Linked DNA regions of Homo sapiens: region 2 is linked to region 1. Evidence: promoter capture Hi-C in human tissues and cell types (Jung and others, 2019). All regions are on one chromosome and are shown on one strand. Each heading gives the region's core, a stretch centred on a gene start or on the middle of the fragment in contact. The rest is flanking DNA. Distances are from core to core; before and after follow the strand shown. Region 1 holds the start of OR10H1 (olfactory receptor family 10 subfamily H member 1). Region 2 has its middle 27 kb from the start of CYP4F8.

What was found. Contacts are between HindIII fragments. The study calls those that stand out against the background at their distance.
Region 2: a fragment that was not itself captured here is called in contact with the fragment with the promoter of OR10H1 in region 1 in 1 of the 25 tissues and cell types used here (small bowel).

What each region holds. Positions count from the first base shown.
Region 1 is chr19:15,811,994-15,818,444 of GRCh38, reverse strand. It overlaps OR10H1 (olfactory receptor family 10 subfamily H member 1), which reads left to right and starts at 2,781. Exons shown (of 4, transcript NM_013940.4): 1 at 2,781-2,890; 2 at 5,567-6,215. The HindIII fragment of the contact is 22,557 bases long and covers 1-6,451 here.
Region 2 is chr19:15,584,932-15,591,740 of GRCh38, reverse strand. No RefSeq gene overlaps it. Among named protein-coding and RNA genes, the nearest start is that of CYP4F8, 27 kb to the left of the region's middle. The HindIII fragment of the contact is 7,557 bases long and covers 1-5,314 here.

The DNA.
Region 1 (6,451 bases), core at 1,532-4,031:
AGACAACGAGAGCAAAAATGGGTAACTGGGATCACATCACGTTACAACCTGCACAGCAAAGGAAACAATAAACAAAGTGGGCTGGGCGTGGTGGCTCACGCCTGTAATCCCAGCACTCTGGAAGGCCGAGGTGGGCTGATCACCTGAGGTCAGGGGTTCGAGACCAGCCTGGCCAACATGGTGAAACTCCATTTCTACTAAAAATACAGAAAACTAGCTGGGCATGGTGGCGTGTGCCCATAATCCCAGCTACTCAGGAGGCTGAGGCAGGAGAATTGCTGGAACCCGGGAGGTGGAGGTTGCATTGAGCCAAGATTGAGCCACTGTGCTCCAGCCTGGTCGACAGAGCGAGACTCCATCTCAAAAATAAAAAATAAAAAAAAATAAAAGTAAATAAAAAATAAACAAAGTGAAGAGACAATCACAGAATGGGAGAAAATACTTGCAAACTATCCATCTGATAGGGGATTAATAACCAGGATACATAAGGGGCTCAAACAACTCAATAGGAAAAAAATTAATGATCTGATTTTAAAATGGGCCAAAGATCTGAATAAACATTTCTGAAAAGAAGACATACACATGGCAAACAGGCATATTAAAAGATGCTCAACCTCACTGATCATGAGAGAAATGCAAATCAACACTACAAGATAATGTCTCAACCCAGTTAAGATGGCATTTATCCAGAAGACAGGCAATAAGGAATGCCTGGGAGGATGCTGAGAAAAGGGAACCCTCATGATTTTTTGGTGGGAAAGTAAATTAATACAACCACTATGGATAATAGTATGGCGGTTTCTCAGAAAACTAAACATAGAGCTATCATATGATCCAGAAATGCCACTACTTAAGTATATACTCCAAAGAAAAGAAATCAGTGTATCAAAGAGATATCATTTGTATGGAATTATCCATAAAATTAAAAGCCTAGCTCCTTTCACATAGCACATGTTTTCAACGTTCATCTCTACTGTGGCCTGGACTGGGATGTTATTCCTTTCTGTGGCTGAATAATAGCCATTATATGATTATACCACACTTTGTTTATCCATTTATTTATTAATAGACATTTGGATCTGCCATTGATAGACGTTTGGATCAGGCCATGTCCAGTGGCTCACACCTGCAATCCAAGCACTTTGGGAGGTCAAGGCAGGAGAATCGCTTAAGCCCAGGAGTTCCAAGAGCAGCCTGAGAAACAAAGTGAAATCCTACTCTCTACAGAAAAATTAAAAAATACCGTTTGGCTACTGTGAACAGTGCTGCTATGCACATTTGATGTCCAAGGATTTGTTTGAATCCTTTTCCATTCTTTTGGGTGTATACCTAGGAGTGAAATTGCTGAGTCCTTTGATAATTTCTATGTTAACTTTTTGATAAACTGTCAAACCATTTTGTGTGTTTTTAAAATGCAGATCTGATTCTCCCGTAGATATCTTTCCGTAACTTGGTTTTTCACTCAGCGTCTTAGAGTGAACTCTGTGTGAGTTTATGCAGACCAAAGTTTCTCAGTCTTGGCAATGTCGACATTTTTGTGTTGACAAAATGGCTGGAGTGCCGTGGCTACTCACAGGGGCAATCATAATGCATCGTTATATATAGTAGTATATAGTCCCATTTATATGAAATGTCTAGAATAGGTAAGTCCATAGAGCCAGAGCCAGAAAACAAATTGGTGGTTTTGAAGGACTGGGTGGGGTAGGGGAGTGGCTGCTAATGGGTATTAGGTGATGAAAACATTTTGGAACTAGACAGAGGCGGCGGCCACACAACATTGTGAATGCATTCAATCCCAGGGAATTGTATACTTTAAAGTGGTTGATTATTTTATGTGAATTTCACCTCAAAAGCAGAACGAAGCGAAAGCAACAATAATGCACAACAGAACTCTGATTTTATGGGTTTGCATTGTTTTCACATCCTACATGCTCATGAAGATCTGAAGGGATACCCATTAAATTCACCGTCACGATTGCCTGGCTGGCCATTGCATGGTTTGCTGCTTTGTATGTAGCATTTCAATTACATAATAAGAAGAAACAGGCCAGGCATGGTGGCTCACAGCTGTAATCCCAGCACTTTGAGAGGTCAAGGTGGGAGGATCCCTTGAGCCAAGGAGCTCAAGACCAGCCTGGGCAACAAAGCGAGACCCCATCTCTACAGAAAAATTAAAACTTAGCCCAGGTGTGGTGGCAAGCACCTTTACTCCCAGCTGCTCAGGAGGCTGAGGCAGGAGAATCATTTGAGCCTGGGAGGTTGAGGCTGCAGTGAGCCATAATCACACCACTGCACTCCAGCCTGGGCAACAGAGCTAGACCCTGTCTCAAAAAATAAAAATAAAAACAAATACGTGTGTGTGTGTTGGTTTTAAAAAATTATTTTAAAGGACATTTAGTTGGGCAAATGACCCAGTTGGAGAAGAATGAAGGTGACGGGGCATATCAAGGCAGCCTCTGCAGTCCCTGGGGGCAATGGCAGGGCTGCCCTCCTGTCAATTTCAACAGTCATGGGCCCAAACCCCAAATCTGTAGAGCACTAGACTCTGCTCAAGCTCTTGACAAGCTCAGGGAATTGACTCACCCCTGGCAGGCGGGGGGAATGGGAAAGTGAGGATACAGATTCCCTGAGGTTGCCTCCTCTCTGGCAGGGTCCCTGGGGTCCCAGCATCCCTGTAGCGGAGACAGAGACAGTAGGACCACAGCGAGGGAAGCCGGTGGGCAGGGAGTCAGGGAGGGATAAATAATCGCATTTGGGCTCAGTCAAGCCCCCGGCTCAGCTGGTGTGGCTGCTTGGTGCAGCCCACACCTGGTCAGCTCCCACCTGTGGAGAAACTCCAAACTAGAGCCTCCTACTGGGATGAAGCAGAAGCAGATGCCTGGAGTCCCAGGTGAGTCACCTCCCCTCTCAGCCACCTGACCAGGAGAGACCTGGGGAACCAGCACCTGCCAGGGACTCCAAGAAACCACCTGTTTATATTACTCCTTTAGCAATGTGAGTCTACAGGGCAGTGGGTGACAGGCAGAGGCCACTCACCACGTCTTAGTCAGTGTGCTGTTTGCTTAGCAGGACTTACCTTCTTCTATTTTTTTTTTTTTTTTTTTGAGACGGAATCTCGCTCTGTAGCCCAGGCTGGAGTGCAGTGGCGCAATCTCGGCTCACTGCAACCTCCGCCTGCCAGGTTCAAGCGATTCTTCTCCCTCAGCCTCCTGAGTAGCTGGGACTACAGGTGCGTGCCACCATGCCTGGCTAATTTTTTGTATTTTTAGTAGAGACAGGGGTTTCACCATGCTGGACAGGCTGGTCTTGAACTCCTGATCTCGTGATCCACCCGCCTCGGCTTCCCAAAGTACTGGGATTACAGGCATGAGCCATCGTGCCCAGCCAGGACTTGCCTTCTTTAGAGCTCCTGCTGCCTCATGAGGTAGGTCCCTTGGATGGGGGAGGTAACAGGTGCAGAGAGAAGACAGCCAATGCTCAATGTGACCCAAGGTGATGGTTTGATTTTAACCTCTCTTCTCGGTCTGTCCAGGCAAGAAGTCTACGGAAAAAGGATTGGGAAGAGGCGGAGAAAAGAGAGAAAGAGGATTCAGGGTTCAGAAGCTCCAGCCACCACCCCAGGGTGTAAAGAATCAGGGTGGGCCGGGTGCAGTGGCTCATGCCTGCAATCCCAGCACTTTGGGAGGCCAAGGTGGGAGGATCACTTGAGTCCAAGAGTTTGAGGCCAGCCTGGGCAGCATAGTGAGACCCTGTCTGTACAAAAAAATACAAAAATTGGCCAGGAATGGCAGGCACCTGTAGCTACTCCAGAGATTGAGGTGGGAGGATTGCTTGAGCCCAGGAAGTTAAGGCTGCAGTGAGCTGTGATTGTGCCTCTGCACTCCAGCCTGGGTGACAGAGGGATACCCTGTCTCTCTCTCTCTCTCTCTCTCTCTCTCTCTCTCTCTCTCTCTCTCTCTCTCTCACACACACACACACACACACACACACACACACACAAGGGAGGCGTCAATGGGAGCAGGTGGTGAGGGAATGGTTAGGAGCTGGGGATGAGAAGATGGAGAGAAAAGAGAGGGAAGTGGTGGCTTAAGTGGAAGAGAGGGGAGGCCAGACAGCTTCACTAAGAAGAGAGAGCCAGGATGGGTGAGAGTTAAGGCCAGATGGGGTCTCAGAGACAAGACAGGCCTGGCCCATGGAGTGATGCTGTCACCCAGGAGACACGTGACAACGTATAAGGACATTTCTGATTGTCGTGACTGGGGAGTGCTGCTGGTATCTATCTGGTGGGTGGAGACCAAGAATGCTGCTCAGTCTCCTGCAGTGCACAGGACACCCCTCTGAGAGAGAATGATTCGCCCCTAGCGTCCCTAATGCTGAAGGCAGGAAACCCTGCTCTAGGGATGTCTGTGGCAGGACTTGTCCACAGCCACGCTTAGCCCTAGAGTCTCTGAGTGGAGAACTGGCCCCACCGGGTGTTCCTGTCAGTGCTAGACAGTGGGCTTGCTTGCTCTCTCTCTTTCTTCTCACCTTTTTCTTCTCTTTCCCCTCTGTCCTCTCTTTCTCCCTACCTCTCTTTCCTCTCTCTGTTTCTCTTCCCACCTCCCTCTCTCTCCACTTCTCTCTCTCTCCCCACCCTTCTCTCTGTCTCTCTCTCTCTTTCCCCAACCCTCTCTCTCCCCACCTCCCACACTCTCTGTGTCTCTCTCCCCACTTCTCTCTCCCCACCTCTCTCTGTGTCTTTCTCCCTGTCCTTCTCTCTCTCTCTCCCCCCACCTCCCACTCTCTATCTCCCCACTTCTCTCTCTCCCTCCATCTCTCTCTCTCTCTGTGTGTGCTCTTTCCCCACATCTCTCTGTGTCTCCACCTCTCTGTCTCTCTCTTTCTCTCTCCCCACCTCTCTTTCTTTCTCTCCCCACCTCTCTCTCTCTGTTTCTCCCTCGCCTCCTCTCTCTCTCTCTCTCTCTCTCTCTTCCCCTGCCTCTCTCTCTATCCCCATCTCTCTCTTTCTCTTCCTACCTTTCTCTCTCTCTGTTTTACCTACAGAGGAACCCACTGGATGTTCTGCTGGTGAATCAATGCCCAGAAGCTCTAAATCCTCCTCGCTGCTATCCTAGTCCCACATCCACCATGGGTTTGGTTTTGTTTTACTTTTTAAAATTAATAGACTTTATTTTAAGAGCAGTTTCAGATTTACAGAACATAGAGCAGATAGATACTGCAGAGAATCTCCATATACCCTCTCTCCGCCTGCACACAATTTCCCCTATAATTAGCAACTGGGATTTTTTTTTTTTTTTACCATTAATCTGTTACAACTGATGAACCAGTGTTGACACATTGTCATTGACTGAAATCCACAGTTACATTAGAGTTCACTCTTGGGGCTGTACATTCTCTGGGTTTTGACAAATGCACAATGTCCTGTATCTACCATGACAGTATCACACAACATAGTTACACTGTCTTAAAAACCCTCTGTGCCCCACCCATTCATCCCTCCCTCTCACCCACTGGTCCCCTGGAAGCCACTGATCTTTTGCTGTCTCCATGGTTTTGATTTTTCCAGAATGACTGGACTACCCTTTTAGCTGCATTCTGCATCCCATCATTCCAGACGGTGTTACATGCAGCCCTCAGCTACCTCCTACAGACGTGATCGGCTCCTGTCCTCTCAAGGTTTCTCCCTCCCTCCCTTCCTTCCTCCCTCCATTCCTCCCTCCCTCGTTTCTTCCTATCTCACTCTCCTTCTTTCCTCCCTCACTCTCCTTCCTTCCTTCCTGCCTCCCTCCCTCCCTTTCTTCCTTCCTTCCTCACTCTCCTTCTTTCCTCCCTCACTCTCCTTCCTTCCTGCCTCCCTCCCTCCTTTCTTCCTTCCTCACTCTCCTCCTTTCCTCCCTCACTCTCCTTCCTTCCTTCCTTCGTTCCTTCCTTCCTCCTTCCCTCCCTCCCTCCTTCCTTCCTCCTGCAGTCCCCATCCTTCCTTCCTTTTATCCTTCTTTCCTTCCTCCCTCCCTCCCTCTCTTTCTTCCTCCCTTTTTTCTTTCTTTTCCTCCTCCTCCTCCTCCTCCTTTTCTCTCTCTCTCTCTCCCCCCACCTTGTTCACTCACTCGCTGTCGATTCTTGTGATCTGAATTGATATGAACAAGAGTGTGTAGACGGTCAGTCATGGGGAAGCAGCATCTCCTAGTGGCCTTTGAAACAGCCACCAGCAACTGGTGAGTATAACAAGAGGTTAGGAAAAGACAGGCTTTGAGATCAATCAGACCTAAGCTCAGACCCTGGGCCCCCACTTCAGACTCAAGGCACCTAAGGCAAGTGATGTGTCGTGGGTTTCAGTTTCCCTGTCTGTAAAATAGGGATCAGAGCAGATGACTTCTAATGTGGGGGTAAATATTCAATAAGAATAGCATGAGTGATGTGAGTGCAGTGCCTGGTCTGTAGGACATATCCA
Region 2 (6,809 bases), core at 287-2,786, 230 kb after region 1:
TTACACTTAGCAATTGTTTCCTTTTATTATATGAGGTTGTACAGCATGTTTAATTATAATTACTAATATATATAATTACAAATTATATTTTAAAAGAAATTGCTGGTCGGGTACGGTGGCTCACGCCTGTAATCCCAGCACTTTGGGAGGCCGAGGCAGATGGATGACCTGAGGTCAGGAGTTCGAGACCAGCCTGGCCAACATGGTGAAACCCCATCTCTACTAAAAATACAAAACTTCACCAGGGGTGGTGGAGCATGCCCGTAATCACCACTACTTGGGAGGCAGAGGCAGGAGAATCACTTGAACACAGGAAGCGGAGGATGCAGTAAGCCAAGATTGCACCACTGCACTCCAGCCTAGGTGACAGAGCGAGACACTGTCTCAAAAACAAAAACAAAAAAGAAATTGCTTAGCATCGTGCCTGACATTTAGTAGAACTCCATCTATATGACTTGTGAGAAGCCAGAGAGTGTCGTGGTGAAGAACAGGGACTCCAGGTGCAGGCTGCTTCGTTCAACTCTCAACCAGCTGTGTGAATTTGGGCCAGTCTCTTTATTTCTCTGTGCCTCAGTTTTCTTGCCTGAAAACCAGGAGTCATAGCAAGGTTGTTGTGAAAATTAAGGGAGTTTAAAAGAGTAAAGTGCTTACAACAACATTCCCTGGCACATAATCAGCCACAAGCATGTGCATGCCATTATTACTCTAATGACAGGACAAGGACACAGACACCAGCTATGAGCCTTGGTTCCCTCTGGCACATGCAGCAAAGCCCTTGATGGCTTCGAACTTCCTATGTTGTTTCCGCTGGCCTTTAGTAGGGTGGAGTCTCTCAGGAGAGGAGCAAGCACCAAGCTTGGGATTAGGTGGCCCATGGTCAAACCTGGACCTGCCACTAATCAGCTGTGTGACTTTGGGCAAGTGACTTGTCTTCTCTGAATCTCATGTTCCTCTTCAGTACAAAGGACACAGTGATAAGCCTATTGAGATGGGAGAAGCCAGCAGACATGCTTGTCTTAGTTTGGGTTTCCTGGAAGTAGACCCTGATGCAAGGATTCAAGTGCAAATAATTTATTTAGAGGTGACCAAATTTCAACTGCCAGTTGTTTGTTTGGGAGGTAAGTCCAGGAAACACCAGTAGGACAGCTGAAAACTGAGACAGGAAAGGAAATGTAGCAATTAAAAGGAACTTATTTAAAATAGTTTCCACCATGGGCAGCCAAGGCTCAGCCCTCCATGGCACCTCTGGGAGACAGCATAGAACATGCACCTCAGAGTCATCCCACTCAGGGAAAAGGAGCTGGGGCATTTACCCACCAATACTCACCACCCATTGTTGAGGGCTGCTTCCAAGGACATGAGAATGTGCTGCCTGCACTGCAAGGGTCAGACATGGGATCAAGGGCATGAAAATGTGCTGCCTGCACTGCAAGGGCCAGATGTAAGGTCAAGGGCATGAGAATGTGTTGCCTGTATTGCAAGGGTCAGATGTGGGGTCAAGGGCATGAGAATGTGCTGCCTGCACTGCAAGGGTCAGGCCTGGGGTCAAGGACAGTGGCTGTGATAGTGGCTCCAGTCATGAATAGGAACACAGCCTGGTGTAGACAGCTACAGTGGCTCAGTGACAACAACATACACACACTCACACATGCATACCACACTCAGACACTCAGTCGCCAACACGGTGTAATACAGACATATGCACATGTGATCACAGCCACCCATGCACACAATTACATACACTCACAAACACACTTGCACACGCTGTGAATGCAGTCCCACAGATACAGTCACACACACACCTACAATCGCACACCCACACACATCCTCTCTCTCTCTCTCTCTCTGTCACACACACACAAACAAACACAGAGACAAACTAATAATCCAGACACCTGGGAGTCTGTTCTCCCCAAACTGTCCAGTGGTGCCTCCTTCACATTCAAGAGAGGAAGGAGGCCCCACAGCAACCGATGACAAGACCAGGCCTGAGCAGGCCTGAGTACGTTTTGTTGTTGCTGTTGTTGTTGTTGTCGTTGTTGTTATTTATTTTTATTTTTATTTTTTTTAGGTGGAGTTTCACTCTGTTGCCAGCCTGGAGTGCAGTAACAGGATCTCGGCTCACTGCAACCTCCGCCACCCAGGTTCAAGCGATTCTCCTGCTTCAGCCTCCCGAGTAGCTGGGACTACAGGCGTGCACCACCACGCCTGGCTAATTTTTGTATTTTTTAGTAGAGACGGGGTTTCACCATGTTGGATGAGCTGGTCTCGAACTCCTGACCTCGTGATCCACCCGCCTTGGCCTCCCAAAGTCCTTGGATTACAGGTGTGAGCCACTGCGCACAGCCCTGAGAATGTTTCTAGAATTACATACACAGGTGTAGCAGAATCCTAGAGGCCCACTGGCCCTCTGCCTCCCCACTCACTCTCTCTTTCATAAACCATCACTCCCCTTAGAGGAAGCTGAAAGCCTAGGTGGAGTGGGAAAAGAAACCTTTGACTGGCCGGCCGCGGTGGCTCACGCCTGTAATCCCAGCACTTTGGGAGGCCGAGGCTGCTAGATCACGAGGTTAGGAGATCGAGACTATCCTGGTTAACACGGTGAAACCCCATCTCTACGAAAAAATACAAAAAATTAGCCGGGCGTGGTGGCGGGCGCCTGTAGTCCCGGCTGCTCGGAAGGCTGAGGCAGGAGAATGGCGTGAACCCAGGAGGCGGAGCTTGCAGTGAGCCGAGATCGCGCCGCTGCACTCCAGCCTGGTTGACAGAGCAAGACTCCGTCTCAAAAAAAAAAAAAAAAAAAAAACAACCTTTGACTCTGCAAAGATAAGTCACTCTTTGAAGGAGTTTGCTGCAACTCCATGGATAGATCTAAAGGCAGAGGGTGAATTTGCTCTCTGTTCTGGAGCTGGGACATCCATCTTCTCCTGCCCTTGGACATGAGAACTCCAGGTTCTCAGGCCTTTGGACTCAGATGCAGCTACCCCACCAGGCATCCCTAGTTCTCCAGCTTACAGAGAGCATCTTGTAGAACTTCTCAGCCTCCCTAATCACAAGAGACGATTCCTGTAATAAATTCCCTATTCACTCTACCTCCCTTTCCAGATAGATGGATAGATACAAACATAGATAGAGATATATTCTATTGATTCTGATTCTAAGGAGAACCCTAAGATCGCAGGTCTGCCTGCAGCCTCTGGCTGTGGTGCAGCCTCAGCAGTAAACAGTGTCTAGATTCTGCATGGATAAAGGGAAGCTCTGCTTCCTCCTGTTCCTTCTGTATCAGGGACATCTCCAAGCCCCAAGGGTGCATTCCAGGGCAGAGGGAGAAGACACACTGTCTGCCAACAGAGAGGTCTGTTTTGGCTTGAGAGGAAATGTATTCTTTTCCTGAGAGTGGTTCCAGCCCATGGAGAGTCATATGGAGTGGGCTCCACAAGGGCAGTTTGTGGGCAGCAGTGTGGCCTCAGGATATGCGCTAGGGCTGGTCCCCAAATCCTTTCATGTTCTGGCTGGTCCACCCGGGCTTCAGTTCCTCTCATGGAAAAGGGTCTATACATAGGAACCTTCCCTTCTCAGCAGCCTGCAGAGGAGCAGAGGTGACCCTAACTGTCCATCAGGATGGTGGCTCCCACCTGGGAGCAGCTTCTGCACCAGGCTCTGTACTAGTGTGTCCTGTGCACCATCCCACTGCCCTTGTGAACAGGCCCATCAATCTTGCCATTTACAAATGAACACACCGAGGCCGCATCCCCCAAAGGTAAGAGCAGGCCTAAGTCAGAGGGCAGGGTATGGTGGAGAGAAACGGACAAGAGTCGGCTTCTGAAAGGGGAAGTGAGCGGCCACCTTTTATCCGGGTTGGGCAACATGGCCCGTTGGGACATCTTAGTGAAAGGGAGCAAGAGGAAGGTGGCTCCAGAAGGGGAAGAGTTGGGTTGCATAAGTGCAAGTCAGATGGTGGCAGTAATGAAAGACATTAGCAGAGTGAGAGGAGCTGGAACGTGACCGTGGGGTCTGTTCTGAAAACAGAGATCAATCAAGAGGCCAAATCAAATCCAAATTCCATCTGCTCCCTCCTGCCAGCTCAAAGTCCAGGATTTCTGGGTGATGTGCAGTTCTTTTTTTAATTTTTTTTTTTTTGAGATAGAGTCTCGCTCTGTTGCCCAGGCTGGAGTGCAGTGGTATAGTCTCAGCTCGCTGTAATCTCCACCTCCCAGGTTCAAGCAATTCTACTGCCTCAGCCTCCCAAGTAGCTGGAACTACAGGCACGTGCCACCATGCCCAGCAAATTTTTGCATTTTTAGTAGAGATGGGGTTTCGCTATGTTGGTCGGGCTGGTCTCCAACTCCTGATCTGAAGTGATCCACCCACCTCGGCCTCCCAAAGTGCTGGGATTACAGGAATGAGCCACTGCACTCGGCCTTGATGTGCGGTACTCTGCTTCACATTTTGATGTGGGCTTGTGTGGTGTGGAAATCTATAAATTTAATAGCAATTATCAGTTCTAACGCATCCCAGAGTGGAGCAATCACTGGATCATGACAATTTAACATTCTGTTTTACACTTGTTGCTTCCATTAATAGCAAACTAAGTTATTTGGATCAAAATTCCAGCATTTTTAAAAAGCTGGATGCAGCTGGGTGTGGTGGCTCACGCCTGTAGCCCCAGCACTTTGGGAGGCTGGGGTGGGCGGATCACTTCAGGTCAGGAGTTCGAGACCAGCCTGGCCAACATGGTGAAACCCCATCTCTACTAAAAATACAAAAATTAGCCAGGCATGGTGGCAGGAGCCTGGAATCCCAGCTACTCAGGAGGCTGAGGCAGGAGAATCACTTGAATCCGGGAGGTGGAGGTTGCAGTGAGCCGAGATCAAGCCACTGCACTCCAGCCTGGGCAATGGAATGAGACTCTGTCTCAAAAAAAGAAAAAAAAAAAAGGTAGATGCTTCTTCAATTCTTCATATAAATAAATGACATGAAAAGACAGTGAAACAATAGCGAAGACATGTAATCAACCCAAATGCCCATCAGTGATAGACTGGTTAAAGGAAATGTGGTACATATACACCATGGAGTATTATGCAGCCATAAAAAGGAACAAGACCAGGTCCTTTGCAGGGACATGGATGGAGCTGGAAGCCATTATCCTCAGCAAACTAACACAGGAACAGAAAACCAAACACTGCATGTTCTCACTCATAAGTGAGAGCTGAACAATGAGAACACATGGACACAGGGAGGGGTACAACACACACTGGGGCCTGTGGTGGGGGCAGGAGGAGGGAGAGCATCAGGACAAACAGCTAATGGATGTGGGGCTGAATACCTAGGTGATGGGTAGGTATCACCATGCAGCAAATCACATTGCTGCAGTCACATTGCAGCAAATCACCATGGCACACATTTACCTATGTAACAAACCTGCACGTCCTGCACATGTATCCCAGAACTTAAAATAAAATAATTTTTTTAAAAAAAGAAGAGTGAAAAATCACAAAAACATGATTCAAATAATAACAGAAACCTAGAGATAAAGTGAATATAAACTATACCTTCTCTCTGAAGGCACTTCTCAAATCAGGAAAATTTGAAACTCTTTTAACGGTTTTGTGATTGCAGGAAAAAAAAAATTCTAAGCCTAGGTGTGATACAAGGAGGGAAAATGGTAAAAATCCCCTCCTTGCATATGTGGAGACCTCAAAGGGCTACATCTCTCAGAGTGAGAAAAAAATAAAGCAAAACAGCTTGCAAGTGTGATTTCAGCTTAAATTTAAACCTCCTGGGTGACCTTGGTCACCACAAGCCTAGAGGGTCATGAACATAAACCTCAACCAGCAGTCCTCCAAAGACTGCTCCCTAGACAAAGCTGCCTTCTTCTGGCTGAGCACAGTGGCTCACGCCTGTTAATCCCAGCACTTTCAGAGGCCAAGGCAGGCGGATCACTTGAGGTCAGGAGTTCGAGGCCAGCCTGGCCAACATGGTGAAACCCCGTCTCTACTAAAAATGCAAAAAATTAGCCGGGCGTGGTGGCGGGCGCCTGTAGTCCCAGCTACTCGGGAGGCTGAGGCAGGAAAATGGCGTGAACCCGGGAGGCAGAACTTGCAGTGAGCCGAGATCACGCCACTGCACTCCAGCGAGGGCGACAGAGTGAGATTCCGTCTCAAAAAAAAAGAAAAAAAAAATTAGCCGGGGGTGGCGGCAGTCACCTGTAGTCCCAGCTACTTGGGAGGCTGAGGCAGGAGAATCGCTTGAACCCAGGAGCAGAGGTTGCAGTGAACCGAGATCTTGCCACTGCACTCCAGCCTGGGTGACAGAGCAAGACTCTGTTTCAGAAAAAAAAAAAAGAGAGAGAGAACTCTGCCTTCTTTAAATCCTACGAATATTATTTCTAATATGCAAATATGGCAGCCAATACCAGGCAAAGATAACCGAAACACTGACCCCATGACAAAAATGACAGTCATTGTAATAGATACAGGTACTTTCAATGATCAGACACACTGTAAAACAACCAGGCTTATTATTGTTTAATAAGTGCAGTCGTTTAAGAACAATGAAAACGGTGAAGAACCCTGAGGTGAGAGGAAAAAAAACAACTGGATGTATTAGGAGATGAGAATTGAGATCGAGGGGCGGGGATGTAGTGCCGCTCTGGTTTTCCTCAGTGACTCAGAGCCTCAAACCTGCCCCATAGGTGCCTCCTCAACCCTGGTCCCTCTCCTGCTCAAACACCCGCCATGGCTCCCTATCGCCCACAGGATACTGTCCCCACCTGCGCTCTGGGACAACCCGCCCTCAGCACGGGGCCA